Regions from separate parts of the Homo sapiens genome. Here region 1 is linked to region 2. Evidence: promoter capture Hi-C in 16 types of primary human blood cells and fetal thymus (Javierre and others, 2016). All regions are on one chromosome and are shown on one strand. The core of a region is centred on a gene start or on the middle of the fragment in contact, and the rest is flanking DNA. Distances in the headings are between cores, read along the strand shown. Region 1 overlaps LIMA1 (LIM domain and actin binding 1). Region 2 holds the start of BCDIN3D (BCDIN3 domain containing RNA methyltransferase).

What was found. Contacts are between HindIII fragments. The CHiCAGO score rates a contact against its expected background, and 5 or more counts as called.
Region 1: a fragment that was not itself captured here is called in contact with the fragment with the promoter of BCDIN3D in region 2 in 1 of 17 cell types (M2 macrophages); the score reaches 5.7 in M2 macrophages.

Annotation. Positions count from the first base shown.
Region 1 is chr12:50,175,665-50,180,515 of GRCh38, reverse strand. It overlaps LIMA1 (LIM domain and actin binding 1), which reads left to right. Exons shown (of 11, transcript NM_016357.5): 11 at 2,447-4,728. The coding sequence ends at 3,452. Among named protein-coding and RNA genes, the nearest start is that of CERS5, 11 kb to the right of the region's middle. The HindIII fragment of the contact is 2,538 bases long and covers 1,611-4,148 here.
Region 2 is chr12:49,840,586-49,845,250 of GRCh38, reverse strand. It overlaps BCDIN3D (BCDIN3 domain containing RNA methyltransferase), which reads left to right and starts at 2,145. Exons shown (of 2, transcript NM_181708.3): 1 at 2,145-2,397. The coding sequence starts at 2,164. It overlaps BCDIN3D-AS1 (BCDIN3D antisense RNA 1), which reads right to left. Exons shown (of 3, transcript NR_027501.1): 3 at 4,097-4,665. RefSeq lists enhancers at 1,803-1,862, 2,433-2,802. The HindIII fragment of the contact is 7,812 bases long and covers 1-4,665 here.

The DNA.
Region 1 (4,851 bases), core at 1,630-4,129, 330 kb before region 2:
GCCTGGGTAACATAGAGAGACCCCATCTGGTTTTTCTTTTTGAGATGGAGTCTCACTCTGTTGCCCAGGCTGGAGTGCAGTGGTGTGATCCTGGCTCACTGCAACCTTTGTCTCCCAGGTTCAAGCGATTCTCATGCCTCAGTCTCCTGAGTAGCTGGGATTACAGGCGGGCACCACCACGCCCAGCTAATTTCTTTCTTTTTTTTTTTTTTTCCGGAGATGGAGTCTTGCTCTGTCGCCCAGGCTGGAGTGCAGTGGGATGATGTCAGCTCACTGCAACCTCCACCTCCCAGGTTCAAGCAATTCTCCTGCCTCAGCCTCCCGAGTGGTTGGGACTACAGGCGTGTGCAACATGCCTGGCTAATTTTTGTATTTTTCATAGAGATGAGGTTTCACCATGTTAGCCACGCTGGTCTTGAACTCCTGACCTCAGTCAGTCTGCCCTCCTCGGCCTCCCAAAGTGCTGGGATTACAGGTGTGAGCAACCACGCCTGGCCAATTTTTGTATTTCTTAGTAGAGATGGGGTTTCACCATGTTGGTCAGGCTGGTCTCAAACTTCTGACCTCAAGTGATCTGCCCACCTCGGCCTCCCAAAGTGCTGGGACTGCACCTGGCCGGAGATCCCATCTCTATGAAAAATTTGGGGAGGCTGAGACTGAGGCTGGAGGATCACTTGAGCCCTGGAGGTCAAGGCTGCAGTGAGCTATGATCATACCATTGCACTCCAGCCTGGGTGACAGAGCAAGACCTCCACTCAAAAAAAAAAACAACAAAAAATGGCTGGGTGCAGTTGCTCATGCCTGTAATCCCAGCACTTTGGGAGGCCGAGGTGGGCAGATCACGAGGTCAGGAGATTGAGACCATCCTGGCTAACAAGGTGAAACCCCGTCTCTACTAAAAATACAAAATATTAGTCAGGTGTGGTGGCGAGTGCCTGTAGTCCCAGCTACTCGGGAGGCTGAGGCAGGAGAATGGCGTGAACCTGGGAGGCGGAGCTTGCAGTGAGCTGAGATCGTGTCACTGCACTCCAGCCTGGGTGACAGAGCGAGACTCTGTCTCAAAAAAAAACAAAAATGGCTGGGCGTGGTGGCTCACGCCTGTAATCCCAGCCCTTTGGGAGGCCGAGGCGGGCAGATCACGAGGTCAAGAGATCGAGACTATCCTGGCCAACATGGTGAAACCCCGTCTCTACTAAAAATACAAAAATTTGCCGTGCATGGTGGCACACACCTGTAGTCCCAACTACTCAGGAGGCTGAGGTAGGAGAATCGCTTGAACCCAGGAGGCAGAGGTTGCAGTGAGCTGAGATCATGCCACTGCACTCCAGCCTGGCGACAGAGCGAGACTCTAACAAAACAAAACAATACAAAAATTAGCCAGGCGTGGTGGCGCACTCCTGTAATCCCAGCTACTCAGGAGGCTGAGGCAGGAGAATTGCTTAAACTTGGGAGGCGGAGGTTGCAGTGAGCCAAGATTGTGCAACTGCACTCCAGCCTGGGCGACAGAGCGAGATTCTCTCAAAAAAAGAAAAGAAAAAGAAAAAAAAAATATATATATATATATGTATTTATATACCGTTAAGAATAGAGTTAATTCAAGCACAAAAGCTTGATGATGGCTACCCAGAAACACTGACTCCAAATGAATGGGGTCAGCATTCCAAAGTGGAGAAAGTTAGTTTCACTTACACAGAAATTTTAGCAAAGATTATGACATTTTTCATATAAGACCAGTGCATATACCACAGTGATTTGATTGGGTACAGATTGGTACATTCCAAGGAAGATTATCACTCGCAAAGAAGGGATAGTGATCTGAGGGGGTCTTATCTCTGGTGCCCTTTGGTCTTCATAATTTATAGTGAAAAGAAAGAGTTGCAGCTACATGCTGTGTGACCCAGGTTGCATAGCCACATTCCTCTCAAGGCTCAGAATGATTTAAAGTTTCTATTACTGTTGGTTTTTTTTTCTTTTTTTTTTTTTTTAAGACAGTCTCGCTCTATCACAGTGGCACAATCTCAGCTCACTGCAACCTCTGCCTCCCGGGTTCAAGTGATTCTCCCACTTCAGCTTCCCAAGTAGCTGAGACTACAGGCATGTGCCACCACACCCAGCTAATTTTTAAATTTTTTGTAGAGATGAATTCTCACTATGTTGGCCGGGCTGGTCTCAAACTCCTGGGCTCAAGCGATCCTCTCACCCTGGCCTCCCAAAGCGCTGGGATTACAGGCATGAGCCACTGCACCCAACCCGTGCTTTGTGTTATGATAAGAAAACAAATGTGCTAAAATGGGGGTAAGGAATTCCTGGTCACTGAAGGGCTTTTAAAGATCTTTTTCTTACTTGGCATCTTCTGAAAATACTGGAATTGCCAGATTTTAGCCTCCTGGTATAAGTGAGAATGTGAAGATTTGCTAAGTTTATGCTTTTTTTCTTTTAATGACAGTCTAGGAACATATGCATCTTTACATGGAAGAATCTATTGTAAGCCTCACTTCAATCAACTCTTTAAATCTAAGGGCAACTATGATGAAGGCTTTGGGCACAGACCACACAAGGATCTATGGGCAAGCAAAAATGAAAACGAAGAGATTTTGGAGAGACCAGCCCAGCTTGCAAATGCAAGGGAGACCCCTCACAGCCCAGGGGTAGAAGATGCCCCTATTGCTAAGGTGGGTGTCCTGGCTGCAAGTATGGAAGCCAAGGCCTCCTCTCAGCAGGAGAAGGAAGACAAGCCAGCTGAAACCAAGAAGCTGAGGATCGCCTGGCCACCCCCCACTGAACTTGGAAGTTCAGGAAGTGCCTTGGAGGAAGGGATCAAAATGTCAAAGCCCAAATGGCCTCCTGAAGACGAAATCAGCAAGCCCGAAGTTCCTGAGGATGTCGATCTAGATCTGAAGAAGCTAAGACGATCTTCTTCACTGAAGGAAAGAAGCCGCCCATTCACTGTAGCAGCTTCATTTCAAAGCACCTCTGTCAAGAGCCCAAAAACTGTGTCCCCACCTATCAGGAAAGGCTGGAGCATGTCAGAGCAGAGTGAAGAGTCTGTGGGTGGAAGAGTTGCAGAAAGGAAACAAGTGGAAAATGCCAAGGCTTCTAAGAAGAATGGGAATGTGGGAAAAACAACCTGGCAAAACAAAGAATCTAAAGGAGAGACAGGGAAGAGAAGTAAGGAAGGTCATAGTTTGGAGATGGAGAATGAGAATCTTGTAGAAAATGGTGCAGACTCCGATGAAGATGATAACAGCTTCCTCAAACAACAATCTCCACAAGAACCCAAGTCTCTGAATTGGTCGAGTTTTGTAGACAACACCTTTGCTGAAGAATTCACTACTCAGAATCAGAAATCCCAGGATGTGGAACTCTGGGAGGGAGAAGTGGTCAAAGAGCTCTCTGTGGAAGAACAGATAAAGAGAAATCGGTATTATGATGAGGATGAGGATGAAGAGTGACAAATTGCAATGATGCTGGGCCTTAAATTCATGTTAGTGTTAGCGAGCCACTGCCCTTTGTCAAAATGTGATGCACATAAGCAGGTATCCCAGCATGAAATGTAATTTACTTGGAAGTAACTTTGGAAAAGAATTCCTTCTTAAAATCAAAAACAAAACAAAAAAACACAAAAAACACATTCTAAATACTAGAGATAACTTTACTTAAATTCTTCATTTTAGCAGTGATGATATGCATAAGTGCTGTAAGGCTTGTAACTGGGGAAATATTCCACCTGATAATAGCCCAGATTCTACTGTATTCCCAAAAGGCAATATTAAGGTAGACAGATGATTAGTAGTATATTGTTACACACTATTTTGGAATTAGAGAACATACAGAAGGAATTTAGGGGCTTAAACATTACGACTGAATGCACTTTAGTATAAAGGGCACAGTTTGTATATTTTTAAATGAATACCAATTTAATTTTTTAGTATTTACCTGTTAAGAGATTATTTAGTCTTTAAATTTTTTAGGTTAATTTTCTTGCTGTGATATATATGAGGAATTTACTACTTTATGTCCTGCTCTCTAAACTACATCCTGAACTCGACGTCCTGAGGTATAATACAACAGAGCACTTTTTGAGGCAATTGAAAAACCAACCTACACTCTTCGGTGCTTAGAGAGATCTGCTGTCTCCCAAATAAGCTTTTGTATCTGCCAGTGAATTTACTGTACTCCAAATGATTGCTTTCTTTTCTGGTGATATCTGTGCTTCTCATAATTACTGAAAGCTGCAATATTTTAGTAATACCTTCGGGATCACTGTCCCCCATCTTCCGTGTTAGAGCAAAGTGAAGAGTTTAAAGGAGGAAGAAGAAAGAACTGTCTTACACCACTTGAGCTCAGACCTCTAAACCCTGTATTTCCCTTATGATGTCCCCTTTTTGAGACACTAATTTTTAAATACTTACTAGCTCTGAAATATATTGATTTTTATCACAGTATTCTCAGGGTGAAATTAAACCAACTATAGGCCTTTTTCTTGGGATGATTTTCTAGTCTTAAGGTTTGGGGACATTATAAACTTGAGTACATTTGTTGTACACAGTTGATATTCCAAATTGTATGGATGGGAGGGAGAGGTGTCTTAAGCTGTAGGCTTTTCTTTGTACTGCATTTATAGAGATTTAGCTTTAATATTTTTTAGAGATGTAAAACATTCTGCTTTCTTAGTCTTACCTAGTCTGAAACATTTTTATTCAATAAAGATTTTAATTAAAATTTGAACTTTTCAATGTTTCTCTTCCATTATTTTCTTACGTTATTACTGTCTCTCAGGATCTACTTTTGCAGTTTGGGAAGAAAAAAATGGTACCACTTTTTTAAGTTTTAGTTGAATAGAAGCATTAT
Region 2 (4,665 bases), core at 896-3,395:
TCCCTTGAAATTATATATGCATCTCACTCCATAAAACCTGGCTGACCAAAGTGCAGAGCGAGCTCTTAGGTGCTGCTACAGCTATTTAAGGTGCTGGGGCTGGTATTGTCAAGTATTGTCAAGACACCTGTGCTGTTCAGGCTCTGAAAAGTGGTCATAGGTTAGAAAAGTTACCAGAGTGGATCAAATTAAAACACCTCTTTATGAGGTCACCTGTCAGGCATTTTAGATTACCAGTAATGTTACGAGGGCCTATCTTTGCTTCTGGAGGAACCCCAGGGTCAGGAGTTCTTGCCATTCACTGTCCTGGAAGCAAGGTGATTCCAGCTCCTTGAAAATTGTTAATTATTTGTGCTAGCTTCATCTAGTGACAAAAAGAGGTAAGTTCAGCTCAGCTCACCAAAATTTGTCAAAACGGTGCAGCTTTTTCTCCTTTTCTGTAATTGTGCAGAATACTGTGGTTTACTAAATTCCAGAGTGACTTTTATTAACTTGTGTCCTCAAATAAGTGAAACTAGAGAAACAGCAGGCCAGATAGAGATGAAAATATAAAGGCTGGGCGTGGTGGCTCTCGCCTGTAATCCCAACACTTTGGGAGGCCGAGGTGGGCAGATCACGAGGTCAGGAGTTCGAGACCAGCCTGGCCAACATAGTGAAACCCCGTCTCTACTAAAAAATACAAAAACTTAGCCAGGAATGGTGGCGGGTGCCTGTAATTCCAGCTACTTGGGAGGCTGAGGCAGGAGAATCACTTGAACCTGGGAGGCAAAGGTTGCAGTGAGCCGAGATCATGTCATTGCACTCCAGCCCAGGCAATAGTGTGAGACTCTATCTCAAAAAAAGGAGAAAAGAAAAAGAAAATATAAAGTAAAAACTGAGAGGAAAACAGCGCTTATTTTAACTCCTGATGGTACTGTTTGCAGGAGTCATGCTCCAGTGCCTTATAAGAAGTTTACCGAACTGCCAGCCTCATGGAGCAGGATACCCCTTTAAGATGGGTGGGCCAGGTGCAGGGGTGGGGTTGGGGGTCCTGCACAACTCTGCTGATGCTTGGTTGACCCTGACGGATATTCTGGGCCATCCTGGCTTTTGACTGGAACCTGCTACCTAGGTTGACCCTTCAGTTCCTCTCCTTATCAGCTCTGTTATTTCCAATCTCTGAGTCACATCTTGCCCAACTCCATTCCACTATGTCTGCTTCAGTTGGCATCCTTTCTCCCTTCCATTTAAAGTTTCCCCAAACAGATCTGGCCTTATTGTATTCTCTATTGAGTTTTCATTCAACAACATTTGTTGAGCATCTTTGTGCCAGGCCCATGTTAAGTATAGGAGACTCAAGGCTGAGAATAACACACCGTTGCAAGCACATCCTCTGGATCCAAACTCCCTGGGTTCGAATCCTAGTACCATCATTTCTAACTGTGGGATCTTGGACAAGTTACTTTGTTTTACTCCAGTGTCCTCATCTATATAAAAAGAATAATAATACGGTCATTTTCTCACGGGGTGAGAGGATTGACTAAGGAGCTTACAAGGGTGTCTGGTGCCTGGTAAGCACTCTTTAAGTGCTGGCTCTTAAGGCACGGTCCTTGCCTCTCAAGGAGCTCATGGTCTACAGTTGCCCCTGGGGGACAGGGCTGAGTCGGCTGGCTTCGCAAGTGACCTGCACCTCCTGGCTACCCTTTCCTGAACCGGGTGGAAGTTTTTGAGTCACAGATTCAATGTATGACCCCAGACAAGTAAGTTCTCTCGGTCTCACTTTTTGCATTTATAAAGAAAGGAAATTGGACTAAAATTGATTTCCAAGATCCCAACAAACTAGTATACTTGTTCTGGGTCAAGTAGCCCAAGTTTCAAACTATGTCAGCTTGGCCAAGACACTTAGCCCTCAGAGTTTGTTTCATCCCTGTAAAACGTGGATGATATTGCTAATCCCCTCCCAGTGTTGTGATGAGGGTTCAATAATACAAGGCAAGCCCCAGGCGCTCGCCGGCTCCAGGTATACAGCGAGAGGAAATCAGGACAGCTTTTCTGATTCACCGCAGAATTCTAGCCACCCGCCCTAGCCGTTCGACGCACGCGCGCTGGCACCGCCACCGCCCACGCCGACAGCAGGTTCCCGGCTTCCGGTTCCGCCACGGCCCAGAGGCTGTGTTGAGGCTAATGGCGGTGCCCACGGAACTGGATGGAGGGAGTGTTAAGGAGACCGCAGCGGAAGAGGAATCGCGAGTTCTGGCACCTGGCGCCGCCCCGTTCGGAAATTTTCCTCATTATTCTCGCTTCCACCCTCCGGAGCAACGGCTCCGCCTCCTGCCCCCGGAGCTGCTTCGACAGCTCTTTCCTGAGAGTCCCGAGAACGGGCCGATTCTGGGGCTCGACGTGGGGTGTAACTCCGGGGTGAGTGACAGGGGAGGGATTGGAGCATCCGGAGCCAAGTGGTTGGCTGCCTACACATCCACTGTGGTTCTGGCCTGGGCTAACACCCATCGAAACTTTCCCAAAACGAGTATAAAGCGTGGCTTTGACTGAGCCAGTGCCGCTGCTGCCTGCCCGCCAGGGTTCCACCATCTGTCTTAGGAATCTCTCTTGGAGAGGAGTCCTTGTCGACTACGTTCCCACTTTTCTTTCAGGGCCAGACCCCAGGTGGGAACGGTCCTTGTATCTAGGGTGGCCTCTGTCCAGCGTGCCTGGCGCTTTGGCTGGGGAGAGGGGGCTTCCAGAGACACACGTTTGGGAACATGGGGTTAGGTTTGGTTTACTGGGAGAGAAGAGCCAAGGGTGACAGAATCATGCCTGATATTGAGACTCATGTGTGCTATACAGTGCAGGACAGACCCTGGGACCTGCATGTTTATTTCAAAAAAAGTGAGTAGGCCGGGCGCGCTGGCTCACGCCTGTAATCCCAGCACTTTCGGAGGCCGAGGCGGGTGGATCACAAGGTCACGAGATCGAGACCATCCTGGCTAACACGGTGAAACCCCGTCTCTACTAAAAATACAAAAAATTAGCCGGTCGTGGTGGCGGGCGCCTGTAGTCCAGCTACTCCGGAGGCTGAGGCAGGAGAATGGCGTGAACCCGGGAGGCGGAGCTTGCAGTGAGCCGAGCTAGTGCCACTGCACTCCAGCCTGGGCGACAGAGCGAGACTCCGTCTCAAAAACAAAACAAAACAGTGAGTTGACAGAGTACAGTGGAGAGGATCGAGAAGCAAATAAAGCATTTTGCCCAAGGGAATGGAGAAGGGCGGCACTGCCACTCTTCTTGCTGCAAACTATTCTTAGGCATATGATTATAATCAAACCACATGCAAAATAAGGAAATGTCTCTCCCACACCTATTTGTAGCCACTGGGATATTCTACACTAGCAGGCAGTCTGAACTTACCACGGCAAATGCTTCAAAAGTTAGTACCCTCTCTGCGCTCCCTCCATCACTCCAGTCCAGCATCTGGAGGGCGGGGGACAATTCTGTTACGTTGCTGTCCTTTTACAGAAGAGACTTTGGGGGACGACTTCAGACCTTGTGGGACTCAGATGATAGTAGGAAGGGGACATTTGGATACAGTCTCAAAGACTGGAATGAGGAGATGGGTTGATGTCCTGTGTCCCCTGCAAAATTTCTCCGCTGTGATGATACGGGAAGTCAGAGGGTAAAAACAATGGAAAAGAGAGACTGAGGTTAAGGCTTGGGATTTCACGAAAGGCATTAGGAAACCACCAGAGATTTTAAAGTTGAGAGTAGTATACACATGAGAGGTAAAGACATAGTTGGCAGCTAACTAGGGTAGTGGTTCCCAAACCTGGCTGTACGTTTATGGAGCTTTCTGTTTTGCAGTTTTTAAAAAATGCTTTTTCTTGTGGATCTTTGTAGTCAGGAAAGGGAAAAAAAATGCTTGCGCTTGATAAAACAAAAAAATTCAAACTACAAAGGGGTATATACTAAAAAGTAAGTCTCTACTCCCAACCCTAAATCCTCCTTTTCCCCCACACAGTGGCACTACTGTTTATAATTTCTTAGGTATCAGTCTTGTGTGTATACCAGCATTTACGTACATATAAGTACCCCCCTTTTAGTTTTACAAATGGTAACACACTATTAGTAGCTTTTAATTCTGAGATTATTTATATCACCACATTCTTTTTTTAGCAGCTTCCTAATGTTTCATTGGATAGATGTACCATAATTTATGGGTGCTTTTTTTTTTCAATTTTAAAAACTCCTTTCCCAGCCTGGGCAACATGGCAAAACCCCATCTCTAAAAAAAATTAGCCAGGTGTGGTGGTGGGCATCTGTAGTCCCAGCTACTTAGAGAGCTGAGGGAGGAGGATCGCTTGAACCCAGGAGGTCGAGGCTGCAGTGAGCCTTGATTGTGCCACATACCCCAGCCTGGGTGACGAAGTGAGACCCTGTCTCAAATAAAACAACAACAAAAAACCCAAAAAACTGCTGGGTGCAGTGGCTGACGCTGTAATCCCAGCATTTTCAGAGACTGACGCTGGTGGATTGCTTGAGCTCGGGAGTTTGAGATCAGCCTGGGCAACATGGCAAAATCTCATCCCTACCAAAAATACAAAAATTAGCTGGGCATGGTGGTGTGCACCTGTGGTTCCAGCTACTCATAAGGCTGAAGTAGGAGGATCTCTGGAGCCTGGGAAGTCAAGGTTGCAG